Regions from separate parts of the Homo sapiens genome. Here regions 2, 3, 4, 5, 6 and 7 are each linked to region 1. Evidence: promoter capture Hi-C in 16 types of primary human blood cells and fetal thymus (Javierre and others, 2016). All regions are on one chromosome and are shown on one strand. Each heading gives the region's core, a stretch centred on a gene start or on the middle of the fragment in contact. The rest is flanking DNA. Distances are from core to core; before and after follow the strand shown. Region 1 holds the start of CHRM3-AS1 (CHRM3 antisense RNA 1). Region 2 overlaps CHRM3 (cholinergic receptor muscarinic 3). Region 3 overlaps CHRM3 (cholinergic receptor muscarinic 3). Region 4 overlaps CHRM3 (cholinergic receptor muscarinic 3). Region 5 overlaps CHRM3 (cholinergic receptor muscarinic 3). Region 6 overlaps CHRM3 (cholinergic receptor muscarinic 3). Region 7 overlaps CHRM3 (cholinergic receptor muscarinic 3).

Evidence for each region. The method cuts DNA at HindIII sites, captures the fragments that hold promoters and counts their contacts. A CHiCAGO score of 5 or more calls a contact.
Region 2: a contact is called between a fragment that was not itself captured here and the fragment with the promoter of CHRM3-AS1 in region 1, in 16 of 17 cell types (activated CD4 T cells, total CD4 T cells, naive CD8 T cells and 13 more). The highest score is 57.9, in activated CD4 T cells.
Region 3: a contact is called between a fragment that was not itself captured here and the fragment with the promoter of CHRM3-AS1 in region 1, in 12 of 17 cell types (activated CD4 T cells, non-activated CD4 T cells, total CD4 T cells and 9 more). The highest score is 16.2, in activated CD4 T cells.
Region 4: a fragment that was not itself captured here is called in contact with the fragment with the promoter of CHRM3-AS1 in region 1 in 3 of 17 cell types (non-activated CD4 T cells, M0 macrophages and total CD4 T cells); the score reaches 5.6 in non-activated CD4 T cells.
Region 5: a fragment that was not itself captured here is called in contact with the fragment with the promoter of CHRM3-AS1 in region 1 in 1 of 17 cell types (M1 macrophages); the score reaches 5.2 in M1 macrophages.
Region 6: a fragment that was not itself captured here is called in contact with the fragment with the promoter of CHRM3-AS1 in region 1 in 8 of 17 cell types (non-activated CD4 T cells, activated CD4 T cells, total CD4 T cells and 5 more); the score reaches 9.9 in non-activated CD4 T cells.
Region 7: a fragment that was not itself captured here is called in contact with the fragment with the promoter of CHRM3-AS1 in region 1 in 3 of 17 cell types (non-activated CD4 T cells, activated CD4 T cells and monocytes); the score reaches 6.6 in non-activated CD4 T cells.

The regions. Positions count from the first base shown.
Region 1 is chr1:239,898,562-239,901,261 of GRCh38, reverse strand. CHRM3-AS1 (CHRM3 antisense RNA 1) reads left to right here and starts at 1,390. Exons shown (of 2, transcript NR_046582.1): 1 at 1,390-1,498. All of the region lies in intron 6 of CHRM3 (cholinergic receptor muscarinic 3), which reads right to left. The HindIII fragment of the contact is 7,774 bases long and covers 1-2,700 here.
Region 2 is chr1:239,405,984-239,408,683 of GRCh38, reverse strand. All of the region lies in intron 1 of CHRM3 (cholinergic receptor muscarinic 3), which reads right to left. Among named protein-coding and RNA genes, the nearest start is that of CHRM3, 21 kb to the right of the region's middle. The HindIII fragment of the contact is 7,375 bases long and covers 1-2,700 here.
Region 3 is chr1:239,423,933-239,426,632 of GRCh38, reverse strand. All of the region lies in intron 1 of CHRM3 (cholinergic receptor muscarinic 3), which reads right to left. Among named protein-coding and RNA genes, the nearest start is that of CHRM3, 39 kb to the right of the region's middle. The HindIII fragment of the contact is 302 bases long and covers 1,275-1,576 here.
Region 4 is chr1:239,460,577-239,463,276 of GRCh38, reverse strand. The region is part of intron 1 of CHRM3 (cholinergic receptor muscarinic 3); the gene reads right to left. Among named protein-coding and RNA genes, the nearest start is that of CHRM3, 75 kb to the right of the region's middle. The HindIII fragment of the contact is 6,491 bases long and covers 1-2,700 here.
Region 5 is chr1:239,546,001-239,548,700 of GRCh38, reverse strand. All of the region lies in intron 3 of CHRM3 (cholinergic receptor muscarinic 3), which reads right to left. Among named protein-coding and RNA genes, the nearest start is that of CHRM3, 160 kb to the right of the region's middle. The HindIII fragment of the contact is 2,513 bases long and covers 97-2,609 here.
Region 6 is chr1:239,441,809-239,444,508 of GRCh38, reverse strand. The region is part of intron 1 of CHRM3 (cholinergic receptor muscarinic 3); the gene reads right to left. Among named protein-coding and RNA genes, the nearest start is that of CHRM3, 57 kb to the right of the region's middle. The HindIII fragment of the contact is 269 bases long and covers 1,142-1,410 here.
Region 7 is chr1:239,481,907-239,484,606 of GRCh38, reverse strand. The region is part of intron 1 of CHRM3 (cholinergic receptor muscarinic 3); the gene reads right to left. Among named protein-coding and RNA genes, the nearest start is that of CHRM3, 97 kb to the right of the region's middle. The HindIII fragment of the contact is 1,532 bases long and covers 678-2,209 here.

The sequences.
Region 1 (2,700 bases), core at 141-2,640:
CAAGGAGGGCTTGGAATCTTGCCTTACACTCTGCTGTTGCTTTTAAATGCGGAGAAGGTTGGAGGAAAAAGAGGTCGCATCTGATAATATTGATCAGACTCAAAGAAGATGCGTGCCTCATGCCCTCCTGTCTGGTGCCCAGAGGTGGCAGCTGCTCAGAGGTCACTAGGTCACCATGGCAGAAGCACCGATGACCTGAATGCCTGTGGTAATGAATTCTTCCTTAGTCTTGCCTAAGACGTAAACTCAGCTGGGCGAACACCTTGATTTCAGTGTTGAGACCCTGAACAGGGAACCTTGTTGTAAGCTGCTAAGTTTGTGGTGATTTGCTATGCAGAATGGGGCCACAACAGGCAGCTTCGAGGCAAGTTATACAAAAATGAAATGACTGATCTTGCTCGCCTGAATACGATGGATTAAAAATATTATACACACTTTACATGTAAATGAGCAATGTATTGTCTCACACATAAGAAATCCTAGTTCTACTTGGGTTGTGGATTTTCTCCCCTCATTGCTGTAGGGGCCTTTCTTGCCTTCGTCCCTCCAAGGGAATATTCAGCACCTGCCATACCTCTTCTGAGCACACTGTCTTTTCTCGACAGCCCAGGTGAGGTACATTCCTGGTGCTCCCCAATCTATTCATATCAAGGCTGTACCCAGCTTTATCAAGGAAGACAATGTCCCTATAGGGCCAGGAAACAAGATCCCTCCCACCTTCTTTCAGACATTTTCTATGAACTTCTCCGAGGCCTTGGGGCCACGGCCTCATTAAAAGGACTGTTCTCTGGAGGCTCAGCAACGGAGGTCCTATCGGTACCCAGGATGACAACAGGAGAAAGTGATCAGCCGGTCATAAGGATTTCAAAAAAAAAAAAAAAAAAGAATATCTAAAAGTACTTATTAGAAATGAGAGTCACCAAATGTTTTACTTCAGGTATATCTATTATTTCATAGGTAATATGTAACTTCCTGAGAATCAAGACTGTAGGTCAGACCCAAATGAAGCAGTGATAACCCCGGGCTAAGAGCCCTCAGTTTACGGTGATTTTCTGAGTAGAAGGTATCATTCCTATGTTTAATATTCCTTCCTCATCCTGACTCAACAGCTATTCCATAGCATTAGGATATTTTGAGTCAAGGAAGTTCACAGTCTACACTCATTGAATTGAATGATATTGGTGAGGGGACCTACAGGAAGTCTTTCCTTGTAATGCTCAGGAATAAACAGGTGGTGGGAACAGAGATCCTTGTCAGCCCAGTGACCTTCGCACTTTATAAGTAATCCCAGGCAAGAGTTCTAGGAATGCAGCCTGCATGAGGGCTCAGGGCATGGTCAGATAGGGGCAGACCAGGGGCAGGTGCCTGGCTCCTCTCTGGGGTCAGAGCAGGCTCCCTCCCTGCCAGGTTGTGGGTGCAACATTCAGGGAATGGTTACTGAAGTGTTCCAGGCACCAGAGCTCAGGCAAGAAGTGGAAAACTGCGCAAGATCCTGCACGTGGGTACCATCAGTGCCTTTGTGGGGAAGTTACATCTGTGTGTATGTATATATACTTAGTATATATATACGATATACTTAGTGTACTTATATCGTGTATATATACTATGTACTTAGTATACTTACTTATATACAATGTACATATACTTAGTGTATATATACATTGCATGTTGAACTTACTATATATATACACACACACTACACACACACACTAATTGGTCCGCTAATTGGCTGTTGCATTTTGAACTTGGTATGTGTGTATATATACATGTGTGTGAGTATATATACACACATATATACGTATGTATATACATATCATATACATACATGTGTATAGATATGTGTGTATATATGTATATGTGTGTATATGTATATGTGTTTATATATGTATATATGTATTTATGTATATATACACACACACTAAATTCAATAGATATATATGCGTGTGTGTATATACACACACACACACACACACACACACACACACTGAGTTCAAAATGCAAGAGCCAATTAGTGGGCCAATATGAGAATTAAAAAAGAAAAAAATGTACAGCAAATTGAATAGGACGTATCAGAATGCATACCACATAATGACAATCAATATCACTTCATTAAATTTTTGCTCGACATACACACACGTATAAAATTATGTCTATAGTCATGATGTACGTACAATGTATTTTGTGTTGAATAATGTTGGAAAGCCACTGCAGTGGATATTTTGACATCTTTTATTAATATTTAAAAGAAGAGGGTGAAACAAAAAATGTGAAAAAAGACAAAAAAGTTTGACAGTACTGAATTTAGGAGAAATTGAAGGTTAGTTCTAGGAAATTTGCCTTCTTCCCCCTAGTTATGGCAAAAAATAACTTTTCTGGGGTTATAAGTCTGTGAAATATATAGGTAAATTTAAAAAATTTAAAAATGTGTAAATATCCAGTGTGAAATACATGTGAGATTGCTTACAGAAACGGACAAGGCCAATATACATGTGAGGCTTCTGGTTATAATGAATTCCAAGGAGATAAACTCATTTCATGTCCTCTGAGCCAACCGGGCAGTACCTACTTGGGAAAAATGTTTGAGGGCTCTCGATTTTTAAACCTGCTGAACCAATTAAAAGCGTATAAATTTTTCTAGAAGTCTAAATTAATTCTACGTCTATAATAATAATTATTTTTTTAAGTGATGATATGGGAAAA
Region 2 (2,700 bases), core at 33-2,532, 490 kb after region 1:
CAGATTGAGACCCCATCTATTAAAGAAATAATTTTTTAAAAGAGCATCCTGGGCCAACATAGTCTTGATTGCTGTATTAGTCCGTTCTCACGCTGCTATAAGGACATACCCAAGACTGGGTAATTTATAAAGGAGAGAGTTTTTTTTTTTTTTTTTTTTTTTGACGGAGTCTCTCTCTGTTGCCCAGGCTGGAGTGCAGTGGCGCCATCTTGGCTCACTGCAAGCTCCGCCTCCCGGGTTCACGCTATTCTCCTGCCTCAGCCTTCCCAGCAGCTGGGACTAAAGGCGCCCGCCACCATGCCCGGCTAATTCTTTTGTATTTTTTTAGTAGAGACGGGGTTTCACCGTGTTAGCTAGGATGGTCTCGATCTCCAAGGAGAGAGGTTTAATTGACTCACAATTCCAAAGGGTTGAGGAGGCCTCAGGAAACTTACAATTATGGCATAAGGGGATTGCAAATACGTCTGTCCTCACACGGCAGCAGCAAGGAGACGTGCAGAATGAAGTCGGGGAAAGCCGCTTAAAAAACCATCAGATCTCGTGAGAACTCACTCACTATTACGAGAACAGCATGGAGGTAACCACCCCCATGAGTCAGTTACCTCCCACCAGGTCCCTCTCACCACACATGGGGATTATGGGAAATATAGTTCAAGATGAGATTTGAGTGGAGACACAGGCAAACCATATCAATTGCCTATCACATTTTACATAGTGGTACCTTGTAGGTACTCAGTTGCAGATTTCCTAAGGTATGCTTTAGAATTCCAAATTCAGAAAAGCCCTTCTCCATCTTCCTCTTCCACTTTATGGTCATAAGGAATTTCTTTACTTCCTTTTTAATGTATATGCTCATAATTAAGTCAATGAGCATTTACATTAATTTTTTTTAATTAGAAACTAACAAGTTGGTTCTCTCTCATCTACTTCTAATAGAAAAATAACATTAATGGAAACAAAGCTGGGCATATTCATGGAAATCTGATCGAATGTGCTAATTTAGTTCATTGTTCTTCAGGTGTACCACGCTATAATTTATTGTGAGTGACAGCATTAATGGTGATTTCAATATAAATATGCAAAAGAAAAAGCCCTGGAGGGAAATAATATAAGGGTGGGTTTGTCAGTTTTCCTTTCTGCAATAAGAAAAATAAAAGTGGGATTGAGCATTCATTCTGCTAGCATATATTAAGAGCCCACCCTCCTGAGACAGATAGCGTTCTAGAAACTGGAAATTTAGCGCTCTCTCTCTCTCTCTCTCTCTCTATATATATATATTTATAGTCATTGGTCTCATAGAGCTCATATTGTAGTGGGCGTTAACAGACAGTGAGTGAAAAAATAAATATATATTTTGTCAGGCAGTGACAGATGCTATGAAGAAAAGGACAGCAGATTCAGAAGATGGTGAATGATGAAAGTGACGCATGCCACTTAGAGGAAGTGATCACAAAACGCAGCCTGATCGGATGGCATTTGAGGACAGCTCTAACAGAAGTGAAAAAGCAAGCTATATAGACTTCTGGAAAAAGATCATTTCAAACAGATATAATAGTAAGTGTAAAGGCTCTGAGGCAGAAAGTTCTTGATAGAGACAACAACAAAAAAAGAAAACAGCAGGAAGTTTTTCACTTGTAAGGTTAGTTTTGCCTGGATCTTCTTCTCTATTTAGACCTTACTGGTCCTTTAAAGTATCTCTCAAGTGAAATCCCTTAAAAGAAGAAATGCCTGGTATCTCTCCAAAAAGATTTGGCTTCTTCACCCTCTGATTCCCAAGAACAACTTGGCTCAGACAACTCTATTTTACAAGTTAACATATTTGTAGATTATAAACACACATCTAGGGTCAAGACTTTGCTACACAATTTTTTTATCCCCTCCTGAACCTAGCTGCCTTATAATGATCTTGGCCAAGCTACCTTGGAAGTCAATAAAAGCATCTGTAATTGAGAGAGGCTTTGCAGAAATGTAAAGGGTCAGTGGGCATTACTTCTTTATAGCTTAGTCTGGTTTGGACTTGGAAAACATACAATATGGCACCCTGACCCTGAGTCTTCCAAAAGACTTACTGAGTTAGTTATTTCTTTGCTGGAATGAGGATGGGCTACTCAGTAGTGGGGTTTGGGCCAGCTTTCGCTTCAGTAATGGCGATGTTAATGGTGATGTTAATCTTGTTCTGTGCATGTGACTTGTTGGATTTAACTTTGGTTCATAGTTCATTTTCTTTGGACTCCTATAGCTGATGGTGGATCAAGGGAAGGAGTCAGGCTGAGAGTATCAAATTTCTTTGTTTCTTCTGTCATCACTGGAAAATAAAGCGTTTGTTTCTCGCATATTTGAAAAAACTGCATACTTCCTGGAGCCACCAGGGCATTCATCTCTATCTCATTTTGCAAAGCCTATTTGAACTTTTTCACATAAACAGAACACTAGTCAAAATACCAAGGGAGTCTCTGTTAATTTACAAAATACATGTGACCTTCAAAAGAACTTCAGCCAGGCACGGTGGCTCACGCCTGTAATCCCAGCACTTTGGGAGGCCTAGGCGAGTAGATCATGAGGTCAGGAGTTCGAGATCAGCCTGGCCAACATGGTGAAACCCCTTCTCAACTAAAAATACAAAAATTAGCCAGACATGGTGGCAGGTGCCTGTAGTCCCAGCTACTCGGGAGGCTGAGGCAGGAGAATCACTTCAACCCG
Region 3 (2,700 bases), core at 176-2,675, 470 kb after region 1:
ACAGAATTCCACTTTTTTTCATAGGTCTAACAAATAGCTCTCTGTCACTTCAACCTGCACACACATATGCTCACACACTCATGTTTAAGAATACATTGAACCCACTCATCTTAATTTTGTTTTGGTTTGGTTTGGATTTTTTCTTTCTTTTTTTTTTTTTTTTTGCGGGGTGAGTTCGAAGCAATGGCGTGCTAGAAAGTCATTCATGACTGGCTTCCCAGAGGAAAACGTCAAAGCCTTGATTTGTAGCATTTGCCAATTTCCATGGTGAAAAATACTCCCAACATTGCCAATTTCAAGCTACTAAAGTAAATCATTGAGTTAGGAGCTAGAAAAAGCTGTGAATCGCCACACTGACTTCCACAATGGTTGAACTAGTTTACAGTCCCACGAACAGTGTAAAAGTGTTCCTATTTCTCCACATCCTCTCCAGCACCTGTTGTTTCCTGACTTACCGGGCCTGTTGTGGGGTGGGGGGAGGGGGGAGGGGGGAGGGGGGAGGGATAGCATTAGGAGATATACCTAATGTTAAATGACGAGTTAATGGGTGCAGCACACCAACATGGCACGTGTATACATATGTAACTAACCTGCACGTTGTGCACATGTACCCTAAAATTTAAGCACAATAAAAAATAAAAATAAAAAAATAGCCTTACTGGAAAAAAAAGATGTGAACAACTGGCTCTCCTGAGCTGGTATGAGCTGGCTTCAGCAGAACACTGAACGGCTTTTATAAGAGACCCATATGTCACAGGGAAGGTTAGGTTAACTAAATTACCAGAGATTTCTGAAACGACACAATGACAAGGAATGGAGCGTTTTACAATTCTACATGAAAAATAAATCATTTATCAAAACTAGTAATAATAAAGAAATCCAGGGGCATCATCAGAACCTGATGATCATTTAGAGATAATTTAATTCTGTTTTGTGAAGTTTCCTGCCTGTGTATTCTTTAATTTAGTTTCGCTCAGTGAAACAATCGTTTACCACGTGCCTTTATTTTGTGGGTCTCTGGTTAAGTGAGGAACCAAGTGTCAAAAGGAAGTTGTTGATTTAACACCTACAGATGAAGTCAAATAACTTAATGCATGAGTGTTGTGCCGTTTCAAATGGGGAAAGGATGAGTGAAGGCTGCTTATGCATAACTGGGAAGACCAGTGAAGGGCTCTTGGAAGAAGTTTTTTTTTTTACTTTGGTAAGAAAAGCTAGGATAAATTAAGACAGAAGAAAGGAAAATTGAGATTTGCAGGAGTACTTGATATAAAGCTTGGCACATAGTAGGACCTCAGTAAATACCGAGTGAATGAATGAGTGATTCAATGAATAAATGATTGAGTGAGTAAATGAATTAAAGGGAAAACGCAGGTAAAGGAAGAGATGTCAATGAGCATAGGTATTGGGTTTGATCTATGTGGCCCAACAGACTGAGTCCTGCACTGCTTAACCCCAATATTTCCTATTCAATGTTAATTCTTATCACTGCTAAATCACTTGTAGTGAAGTTGTCATTTTTTGTGTGAACCACTGTGTCCATCTTCTCTGTTTCTGTCACTACACTTGCATCCAAGCTTCTATCATCTCTCAACTGCATGGTTGCAGAAGCCTGTCAATCACTCCGCCAGAATCCACTCTGGCTGTGCCCCCATGCATTACCCACTCTGCACCCAGCATGAGCTTTGCAAAATGCCAATGGGAACATTTGATGATTGCTGAACCCCTACACCAGTCTTTAGGACTTAGGGTTGCTCAATGGTTTGGATTATTCTTACAAGAAAGTCAGCACTCCTGGATGTGGCTTAAAGAGCCCTACATGATCTGACCCCTACTTGCTTCTTCAGCCTAACATCCCAGCACTGTACCCCTCCATCCCCACAGCCTTCTTTTAGGCCATTGAGTGGAGTCTGTACACACTACTTCTTTTCACAGAAATGCTCTCCACTAATTTCACATATATTCTGTCTTCTGTGACCAAGTCAGACTGTCTCAGAGCACCATAGCCCTCTCTTTTGTAGAATTTATCAGTTACAAATGTGTATTTACTGTTATATTTGATGAAAGTTGATTTCTCCCACTAGTTTGTAAGTCCCAGAGGAAGAAGCTACATCTGCTTTTACTCAAGTGTTTGGCACATTCAAGTGTTTGTTGAATGAATGAACAAAATGTCATGTCCATTTCAGTTTCCACAAGGTTGTTCCCATTCCTGAGGTGACCTCACACCCTCCCACCCCCACCACAAATGCAGATCTAATATTAATTTCCAAGCCTAGCTCAAAACCCATTATTTAATTCAATAAATATTCATTAATGAATGATTATGTTCTAGACCCTGTGTTTGGGACAAGGATTACACGGCCACATAGAATCTTAGCAGCTCCCTGAGGAATGCCTGTTCTACCCAGGAGGATACACCACTCATTGCCGTGTCGTATGTTAGGAGCACTAACAGATGTGTGGCCGAAATCTATGGAAGCACATTGCGCAACTAAAAGAATAGCCTCTGGATATTCAATAAAGCTCCACAAAGAAAGAGGCATTTGGCTTGACTTTTTTTTTTCTTTTTTTTTTTTTTTTTGAGACAGAGTCTCGCTCTGTTGCCCAGGCTGGAGTGCAGTGGCGCAATCTCGGCTCACTGCAAGCTCCACCTCCTGGGTTCACGCCATTCTCCTGCCTCAGCCTCCCGAGTAGCTGGGACTA
Region 4 (2,700 bases), core at 140-2,639, 440 kb after region 1:
GCAAAAAATTCTGACCTTGGTTTGAAAATAATGCCTCATACAATTCCAATATTAATATACTCACTGGTTATTTATTCATGTATTCACTCTATCTGTATCTATAATATGCCAAACTCTGTGCTAGCTGCTTACTATTATTCATCTCATCCTCAAAACCATTATAAGGAGGTGTGACTATTCCTCACTTTGTTATCTGTGTTGTTCAATCGATTAGTTAGTTATACACAGTCTGGTTTAATATAAAAATGTAGCCATGCATTTTAGCTACATAAAGTAAACTGCCTTTTCTAGAAATTAGGGCTTATAAATTCTTCCCCCTCATATATTTGCTGACTGGTGATCAGAGAATTAATTCTGTCCAGTTGAACTAGGAGTTATATAACAACAAATGTCCGAAATTGATTCTCTAAAATGTCTGCACTAACAGTGTAAGTGTACTTCCCACTATGGAATTTTAAAACTGTGTGCTAATATAATGTGAAGCATCAAGGAAAAAGCTGCAGAAACAGTTGTTAAGTAAACTTGAGCTAGGACGCTAAAATCTCACAAAATTACCTGTAGCTTCAAACATGCTGTATGTACAAAAAGTAAATCTAAGACTTTATTTTACAAATTCTAAAGTTATCTCTTTTATAGTATTTGTAGGTAATTTGATATTAATCATCATTTTGATAACCTAATCTACCAGAAAAGTTAACTTCTAGTCAAATTATTTTTACACGTACCCTGCAGGCAGCTGTAAAAGTGTGAAGGTACAAATTGAAATTCTGTTTTTTACATCCCTGGGATGCATTATATTATAAAAACAAAACAGAAAAGTATTTATGTTCTGGCAGAAGAACAACAATATGAAAAATTTTTTTTTCCTTTTGAGCATTAAGATTCAGAATCATGACTTTTGAAACATACTATCAACTTTGGATAACAAAAACTGGTTCTCGTGGATATGACTAACCTGGTATAACCCAGGGACATTTTCTACTTGCTCCCAAATTTATATAATGAAAAGGAAAATACTTCTGTTCAAATAAAACTGCTTGTGGAATAATAAAATGAATGTATCCTCAGTTTTCAAATTTAGTAAATATCTCCAAATCACCGAAATTCTCACTTTAAGCAAACTCAGCACTTAGACATTTTATGTTTCAGAGAAAAAGATAAAAAATTACAATTATGTAACATTTAAATGAATGCAGGAAACAGAAACTCAGCCCATGAGTAAATTAAAGATAATTTTTTAGAAATAGTATTTATATCCAGCTGAGAGAAGCGGTATTACCCAAGGGTGGAGAGGCCAGAGGACAGGGCCATTGGACGGTCATTTTTTCCTGTCACTTCATTTATTTGCTTTTGAAAGTGGGAGAGAATTGAGAATGCTGAGGGGAAAGAGAGCTAGTCAGAAGGGAGATGATGAAGGAAAGGAGGGCAGAATGTAACCAACCAACATGTCCCCAGAGGAGACAGGAGGAGATGGAATATGCTGACGTCCTGATGTCCACGTTCCTCGGTGGTGAGGAACAGGTAGAAAAATGGGGATAGAAGATGACATTAGAAATCTCCAGGGAGAAAGGGCCCATGTTTGCATTTGCTGGGTCAAATTACATTGCAAATCAACCAGAGAGACCACCAGGGAGCTCATCCTGTCAAGAGAATGATAATTTTTTTTTCTTTGCGTATATGGAGGCACGCACATAAGCACATTAAGATTTGCTTGTACAGAATCTGTGTTAAACATACACATAACAGAAGGAAGATACACGTAAAGGAGCCATAAAGGAAAGTAGAAAGAAAGCCAGTCACCAGTTGTCCCACAATGTAATTTGAATAAATAAATAAATAGAATCAGCTTTTGCAAATTTTGTCATCTTTAAATTATTTCCCCCTGAGCTAGCTTGAGATTCAAACACCCCATCTTCTATGTATATTGACCAAAAACTGCAGCAGTTGATATCTACTCTCAGAAGGATTCATATATGATTTCTAAGTTATAATGCCTTCATTATACTATAAAGGGGAAAAAGCGCATTTAATTTTAAATATAATCTTGATCAGAACCTATAACCCATATAAATCTCTCCTTATTCATTGGCACATGATATCTAGACTTGAAGCATTTGTCAGAAAATATAGCCTTGAACTTTCTTCTCCAAATCCACTAAATCTCATTCTTGAATCAAGCCAAAATAATGAGCTGCATACATGGACCCCGTCATGTTGGCTCTTAGAAGAACTGCTTTGTTGTATTTTTCTTGAATATTAGGCTATAGATCCCAATGGAGGCCATTTTAAGAAAGTCCAGTGAATTTCACTTTTGTGTTTGCTGTATTGCAGATGATACTCATTACTTCACACAATGTCTCTTTATGAGGAACTATGGAAGTTTCTCTCTGAAGCATAGGAATCACTATACATTTGTCTAAGAATCTTTCCTAACCTGAAGAACACTACATTTTATTTTGTATTTTCATTTTTTTGTGTTGATCACTGAAAGACTATAATTTCATTTGTTTCCCACCACTTCTAAGTATACATGAAAATTGATAGTGTTAACTCATTGTTAGCTTCTGCTAATTTTTATATCATTATTTCCCTTATCTACTTTAATCTTACCGTGTTGTACTTTATGTCATTTTGAAAATCACCTTAAATTATCTTTGGAAGAAGGTGTGTAGATTTTTTTAATTGACAGGAATTATAGTG
Region 5 (2,700 bases), core at 104-2,603, 350 kb after region 1:
AGGGACAGCAACACAGCAACCAGGCCTGTACCCATGTCCATAGCATGTAGATTCTTACCAAGAAATGCACCCTCAAAGCCTTTATGCCCAAAAGCTTCCCCCATAACCACTACTGTCCTCATCAGGGGAAAAATCTATAAAGGCTGAAGAAGCTATTGCAAAAATAAACAAGAAGAAGAATAAATGGGTGTGTGCAAAGCAGTCAAAGATAACATTTTAATCTGAATTATAAGCAAGTCAGATAAGTCAGATTAAATTTATATGTGAAAGACTTTCTGCATACAGAGATGGACAGAGTTGGACAAACCAAACGCTGTCATTGTTTTAGATGGTTTATAAGGAAGAAGTGAGGGAATAAGACTTGGCTTTCTGGTCTGAGTGATACATGTCAGCCCAGCAACTGGCTCAACTAGAGAGATGGACATAAAACATGGGCTCATGCTCTTGACTCTAAATATTGCCCCAAGTTATCAGTACTTTCCACCTTGGGAACAAATTATGACTCATTTGGAAAATGTCACCCACTAAAACCACTGAATTTTGTCCAGTGTAAGCTCAAAGGACAATATCTTAAGTTGATTCATAATAAAAACAAGCGTACGTCTGATATAGAACTCATGATTATGAAAGTGAAAGTTCAAGCCCTTACTCCCCATCACTTTGTGAAACATTTTCTACATTTATACCTCCTTTCTTTTTTGCTCTCTTTCTCTCCTGAAAAAAAAAAGTCATTTTAAACATGGTGACAGTCCAAAATTCAAAATAAATTAAACATTCATTTGATATTCCTTGATCGGCCTAATAAACCACTTTTTTTTGTCATTTCAGTATTCCATACTCAAGCTATGTTTGCATTTTGTTGTTTAAGTATTTGTTAATCATTTTTGAAATTCTGAATCTAACAAAATAAATCAATAATTGAGCACATTTATGAAAGTCCTTTAAATATAACACGTGGCAAGGACATTTTCAAATTCAGAAGTTCTCTCATTTACATTATTTTAAAATCATACTATACAATGATTTGTGATTATATCTTTACAATGCCTGACAAAGGGGATAGCTGCCATTCCTTGTGTGGATGCTGTGTTAAGCCATCTGAACAAAGGCAGTATGGACTATATCATAATCATTTCCCTTTTATTTCTCAGAAACTGAGGTTTTTGAAAACTTCACAATTAATAAATGACTTTGAACCCAGGGCTTTCTGATTCTAAAATCTGTGCTCATCAGGATAATCCCACACTCCCCAGGGAACTGACTGATAACTTAGTAAGTGTCACACTGCTCCCAAACACTCGTCCATATTAACTCATGTAATCCATACAACAAGCCTATGCAATCAGATAGATCTCTTTTTATTAGTCTCATTCTACAAATGTGCAAACTAAAGCACAGAGAAATTAAATGACTTGTCCAACTTTGCAAAACTACAAAATGGTGGAACTGGGTTGCAACCTCAGGCAGTCTGACTATAGATCCTGCATACTTCAGCACTATGCTACAATATTAGCCAGTGAATATGTTACCTGTTATTAAGATTTTCGTTCCATTTATATGCAAAAATTTTATTCATGTAACAGACCACTGCCCTCCTAGTGAAAATCATATCTAATTTCCGGAATTAGAATTTGCAAACCAGTTTCATTGCATAAGCCTGGTTATATAACTTGTTTAAATTTAGTGGAAAAGTCTTTCTCAATATTACTGAATGTATTTGTTAAGATTACATTTTCAGTTGTTCATTTTAAACAAGCTAGCTGTATTCTCCTAGCTAAAGAGAATGGTCATAGAAGATGTTAAAATGATTTCAGTTAACAGATGTATTAAATACTATATTTAAATAATATTTACAATCTCACCAAATTCCTACATTGTTTCCTTAGTATCTTGAAACTAAAGTACACATAAGAAGTATCTAATATATCTTTCTCCTTCATGTGTAAAAACCTAATAGACAAAATCTAATAAGAGTAAACACGATGGAGAGAAGCAGCAGCAGAAATTCCTTATGGTTGGTGGGGATTGGTGTGTGCATGGGTGTGTGAGAAACATGTGTTTCCTCATATATCATTTAAACATAATTTTCTCAAATATACCAAAAATTAATTTGGGTCATAAATTAAAATTAATGAGGATTTTATCATTTATCTCTTAGGCAAGTAGCATATAAAATAGTAGACTGCATTAATTAATTGGAAGAGACAATTATGGTCACAACTTTTTCCAGCTCTCTACTTGTGCTGTTAGTTGACCACAGACAACACCATTTATTTTTACAGAGTTTGAGAGTTAGCTAATAATTTCACATCCGTTACCTCTGTTGACCTTCAAAGGAAATCTTATGAACTAGGTAAAGCAGAAACGATTCCTTTCACTTTTCAAATGAAGAAACTGAGGCCTAGAGATTAGGGGACTAGTATGAGGATAAATGCTGGAGCTGAAATGAAATTAACATCTTCTGACTGAGTTTAATTTTCTTTCCACAACACCGTAAATATCATACACCAACTGTTAATATGGTGCATCTGTGAGTGGAAGCACATCAAATACCCTGTATAATAAAATTAAACTGTTGCAAAGCATAAACTCGGTAAAAAGTTTAAGCTTACATTGGCACCAGATCTATATGATATTGACCAGAAGACATCGAAACTGTCCAGTGACGTTTCTTAATTCAGTTAAAAAAGAGGGAAGATG
Region 6 (2,700 bases), core at 27-2,526, 460 kb after region 1:
CAGGGCCTCAAATGGTCTCTCTTATTCCCTCCAGCACAAATTAATTGCTTCCTCTTTAATAAATCCCTAGTATTGTATATACTCCTCCATTCAAAACATTCTTTTTATTACAGTTGTGTATGAAATGTCTGCTTCTCCTACTATATTGTAAAATGTGTTGTTTATCTTTGTGTGACCTATGGTAACTCAGTAGAATATGTGTGTTCTTTAACACTTTAAGATCTTATTGTACAAGAGGAAGCAACTTAAAATATATGGAGACAGTTAAAATAGAATAGGATGGACTTTTGTATTTTGTCTGGTGCAGACTAATTCCGTGACTCCTGAACAAAGACCCACAGCCAGCCTCGGGCGTTTTCCTCATGACTAAGGCAGGGTCCTTAAAACGAAGCTGAGAGATTCTTGAAAGGCCCAGAGATGGCACACAACATGCTGAGCCTGGTGCCTGACTCCCAGTACTCAAAAATTGTGACTGCAATTACTAAGAGCAGACACCTCACAGCCTACTTTTTTGGTAAGCATTAAGACAATAAATATAGATGGATTTTGAAAACTATAAAATCTGAAACACATATTTCACACAAAAGAGCCAAAGTAAAATAATTGGGTGAAGGAAGACTCCAATGTGGATTTCAATTCTCTTCTACTGTTTCTCCAATTTTCTCTGATGAGTGAAGTTTCACTCAACTAATTTTGGATATATCTACCCTTCAAGGAGTTAAAATATTATACTGACTAATGCTAAAATGAAGAAAAGTATTTCTCTTAAGATTTTCTTCTCCTAAGCGTTTATATTATACCGACTAATGCTAAAAGAAGAAAAGTATTTCCCTTAAGATTTTCTTTTCCTAAGCGTTTCTTCAGATTCTTCATTAAAGTAAGCACTTTCCAACAAAATAGTCTGGATTTATTATTTCCAGCTTTCCATGTCACAGGCACCTTAAACAGCCGGAAAAATCTTATCCTAGCAGCAGTTTTTCTTCACAGACACTTTGATGTGATCTCTGCAGTTTCAACTTCATTTGTGCTTACATAAATGGAGGTTACTGGAAGTTTTTTTTTCTAGATTTGATGTTCTCATAATTATTTATTTAGAGAAATTGATATCAATTTTGCATTCGTGACATTACAAAGAGAAGCTTCCCTTCGCAAACAGTAGGAAACTTGAATAGGAAATTCTCATTTTAATACCATATCAGGAGACTCTATGACGAAAGACAAATTATACAATCATCAGATTATTCCTCAAACACACAACTGCCCATAAATGACTTTCATCCTCTGTGAACACCAAAAACTGTAATCACACATGAGCAAAGACAAATATTGTAAATTCACTTCAAATATTTTTATGTGAGAACAATTACCTCAGACTTTTGTAATTCACTATTAAATGAAATAAAATAAGCTTTGTTATCTCACTATAAATTAAATACATAAAACCATCAAGCAGTAATAAATACATGGCACAGCCAAATAAAAACGTTAAGGATAGGTGGCTCTATTAAATTAAAATTGGTATTTTATCCTTATTTGTCAGTCCATTTATTAAGACGTCAGACTTGATTAAACTACAGTCATTGTTCCTTCTACCCCATAACACAAGGGCTCGCGCACAGGAACAACTAATGTATCCACTGCCAGACAGAGAAATTCACTCCACACGGAGAATTCACCAGAAAAGACGCTACTTGAGCTCCTAGTGTGAAATGAGCATTTTGTTTCTCCTCTTGTATCTGTTGACTGTGTGAAAATGCTTGAGTATCTGCCACTTCTGGGTCCCTTGTAAACTCAAAATAAGACCTGGGTCATCAGATTAATCAACTTTTAAAAATTCCCTGCTTATATTTTTCTCTTCTCCAGTCAGAACAAAATAGTGAAAATACGCACTCTCAGAACAACCTCAAAGAGTCTGATCCAAATTCCCCACTTACGCTTGAAATTCCCATGGGCAGGATAAAGAAATATCACTGCTTCTGGCCTCACACACTGGCTTCCAGAGACAGTTCACATCTTTCACCCTGAAAATTTTTAAACTCTTAAAGAAAAAAAAAAAAGGGTTTTCTCTACCTATGCATGCATCAAGAACTAACATGTATTTTGGCCGGGTGCAGCGGCTCACGCCTGTAATCCTAACATTTTGGGAGGCTGAGACGGGTGGATTGCCTGAGCTCAGGGGTTCAAGACCAGCCTGGCCAACCTGGTAAAACCCCATCTCTACTAAAATACAAAAAATCAGCTGGGCGTGGTGACAGGTGCCTGTAATCCCAGCTACTCAGGAGGCTGAGGCACAAGAATTGCTTGAACCCAGGAAGCAGAGGCTGCAGTGAGCCGAGAATTAAAACTATCTCAAAAAAAAAAACCTAACGTATATTTAAACTGTCTTTAATGACAAACAATATTAGACAACCTCCTGACGCTGAACCCTGCTGTGGAACTGAAGCATTTGAGAAGAGATACATATTATGTACATTTTGAAAATTAGTATGTGGTCTATCTCCTTTCTAGGTATAAATGAAAATCAAATAATACTGAATGCTTAAAACATAAATCATGTATTTGGAATTTTATTTTAATGTCTCTTAAACATATATTTGCTATCAAAGACTTTTAAATACTTCACATCTGTGCTTGGAAAAGTGAGGCAATAGTTCAGCTGATAAGAAGTGTATGGATTCTTACACACACAAACAGCTTTAT
Region 7 (2,700 bases), core at 194-2,693, 420 kb after region 1:
CCACCTTAACCTCCTGAGTAGCTGGGACAACAGTCACACACCACCACACCTAGCTGTTTCTTCCATTCTAATAACAGTGTTCTACACTGTTGGAGTTATATCCTGGTGATGTGGTTTGGATATTTTTCCCTCCAAATCTCATGTTCCAATGTAATTTCCAATGTTGGAGGTGGGGCCTGGTGGGAGGTACCTTATCCTGAGGGCAGTACCCTCATGAATGGCTTATCACCGTCCCCTTGGTGATGAGTAAATTCTCATTCAGTTAGTTCATGGAATACCTGGTTGTTTAAAAGAGTATGGCACCTCCTCTCTCTCTTGCTCCTGCTGTCACCAAGTGGTATGCCTGCTCTCGCTTCACCTTCCATCATGACTGTGAGCTTTCTCAGGCCCTCACCAGAAGCTGAGCAGATGGTGGTGCCATGCTTGTACAGCCTGCAGAACCGTGAACGATTAAACCTCTTTTCTTTATAAATTACTCAGTCTCAGGTATTCAATTATAGAAACACAAGAAAGAACGAATACATCCAGAAACATTTTAAAATAAAGATCTTTTGGAGATCTTGAGGAAAAATTTCAAAGCTGAAAAGACTACACACTTACTTCGTTAATAGCATTATGTTTTTCAACAAAGTCCATTGTGGTTAAATTACTGTTTTCCTTCCTGTACAAAATAAGCTTCCAAGAGAAAGGTAGCCAAATTCATAACTGTGCTAGAAGGAGACAACAATATCCTAGTTGTGTAAAATCCACACTTGCTGCAATATCAAATTGTCATTTTAGCCTATTTAAGGATACTCAGAAACAGGAGCGGTTTGCCAACAACCTGGTTAAGTAGATGGGGAAGAGTCATAATTTGTCTCTACTTTATTAACACCACTTTCTGTTTACTTAGACTCTGTCTCTGAGGTGCTCAAATAATTTTTCAGACAGTATCCAATTAATCTCTAGCTACGTAGGTGGCAGCATTTCAGATTAAATTATCTCTCAGTCACTTCCTCATTAAAAAAGAAAAAAAGATGTCAAGCATATGACAAAGCATCTTGTCAAAATGATTTCACAGTTGAAAAAGCCTTGCAGAAGAAGGGCAAACTACTTCTAGTTGCTCCTGCAAACCCTCTCTTTGGAGGGACAACCATCTTAGGCTCCTTGAGCTCAACCTTATAGGGAAGTCCAATAGTGAAGAGCCTCTTCCAGGACCGTACACAGGAAATGGAGAACCAAAACTGGGAATCCAAGAACAGCATGATTAGCTAATTTTACAGAAGCTACAGAAGAGCTGTTTGGAATTCCAATGAGAGCTTATGACAATGAGAGCTTCTTAACAGTCTTCTACTGGGACAACACTTCTGAACCTCATCTTAGTAAATCTTTAATATCTTCCTGTACAATGAAGGTTAGAATAATTAGAATGTAGAAAATGTAGAAAGAATGTGAAGTAATTTTTTCAAACACTTTATCAAGACTGTTAATTAGGCTATTTTAAACTAGTGTCCTCAAATTATCCCTTTTCCCCTTCATATTTATTTCAGATGGTGATGAACCCAAACCAAAAAGCAACTCTAAAGAGATCCATTTGATTCAAATAGTGTCTTTTACAAACTCGATTGTGAAATCAGAAGCGAATAGCACGGTGGCTTTCTAGTGCAGGAGGAGGGAGAGCAAAATGCTTTAGAAGTATAAGAATACAGTAAAATATTAAAGGCATATCAAAATTTCCGAGGCATTTAGTTTCATATAAACAAAGATGAAATACCATAAATTCTTATCATATTATTCATTCAATCATTTGACAAATATTTACTGACAGTCTACTAATTTCTAGCCACTAAGCTAGGTACCGGCCATAATGGATAAATATGAAAGATATGATACAAAACCATATGAAATTTACAGTCTAAGAAAGAACATAGACAAACCAGCCATTGCAATTCAGTGTAATGAGAGAATTCTACGGTTGAGAGCTAGGTAGGAGTAACCTAGGTATGGGAAGTCAGAGAAGGCTCCCTGGAGGCAGTGGTATATTAATAATCTGAGATACTAAGAGTGACTAGGGGTTAGGCCCGTGAACTGACAGTGAGGAGAAGAGTAGTGATGTGAGAGGTATTCTAGGCGTTAAGGTTATCTTGTTTTTGCTGATGAAAGAAACTATAGCTCAACCAGAATATTTGGCTTTCCAAACACAGTCCTGTGACTTTGCAGAGTAGAAGCTTGAAAACTCTTTTGGTTTCCAGTCTTGTGGGTGCTTTTCTCCCCTAAAGAGCCACAGTGTTTCCCATCACAGTCGCATGTCCACGTGGACAGAAGTTTCAAAAAAAAGTCATGCAGAAAAGAGACATGATATATTCAACAGAAGTGTGTGAAAATGCTTGTTCTAAGAGTAAGCAGAGTGGCTCATAAAAGCATGTGGGTGTCTCTGGGCTGTTACTGTCATACCCGAGGCAGGGGCAGAAGTGCCAGCAGAGGAGAGAAAGGAAAAAACTAAGAAGTTGAGCAAGAACATAGGTGAGGTGTCTGGGAGAATATAAAAGAAGAGAAAATGAAAAAAATAAGCCTTTGTAATAGAAAAAAGAATTGTCTTCGAAACATGCTTCCAAAAAAATATAAATAAAAAAGAAGAAGAACTTCTTGCTGGATTAATCTTCCTAAAGCTATGAAGCTATGTTATGTTTGAAGTTCACCTTGTTCAAAAGTTATCAATCA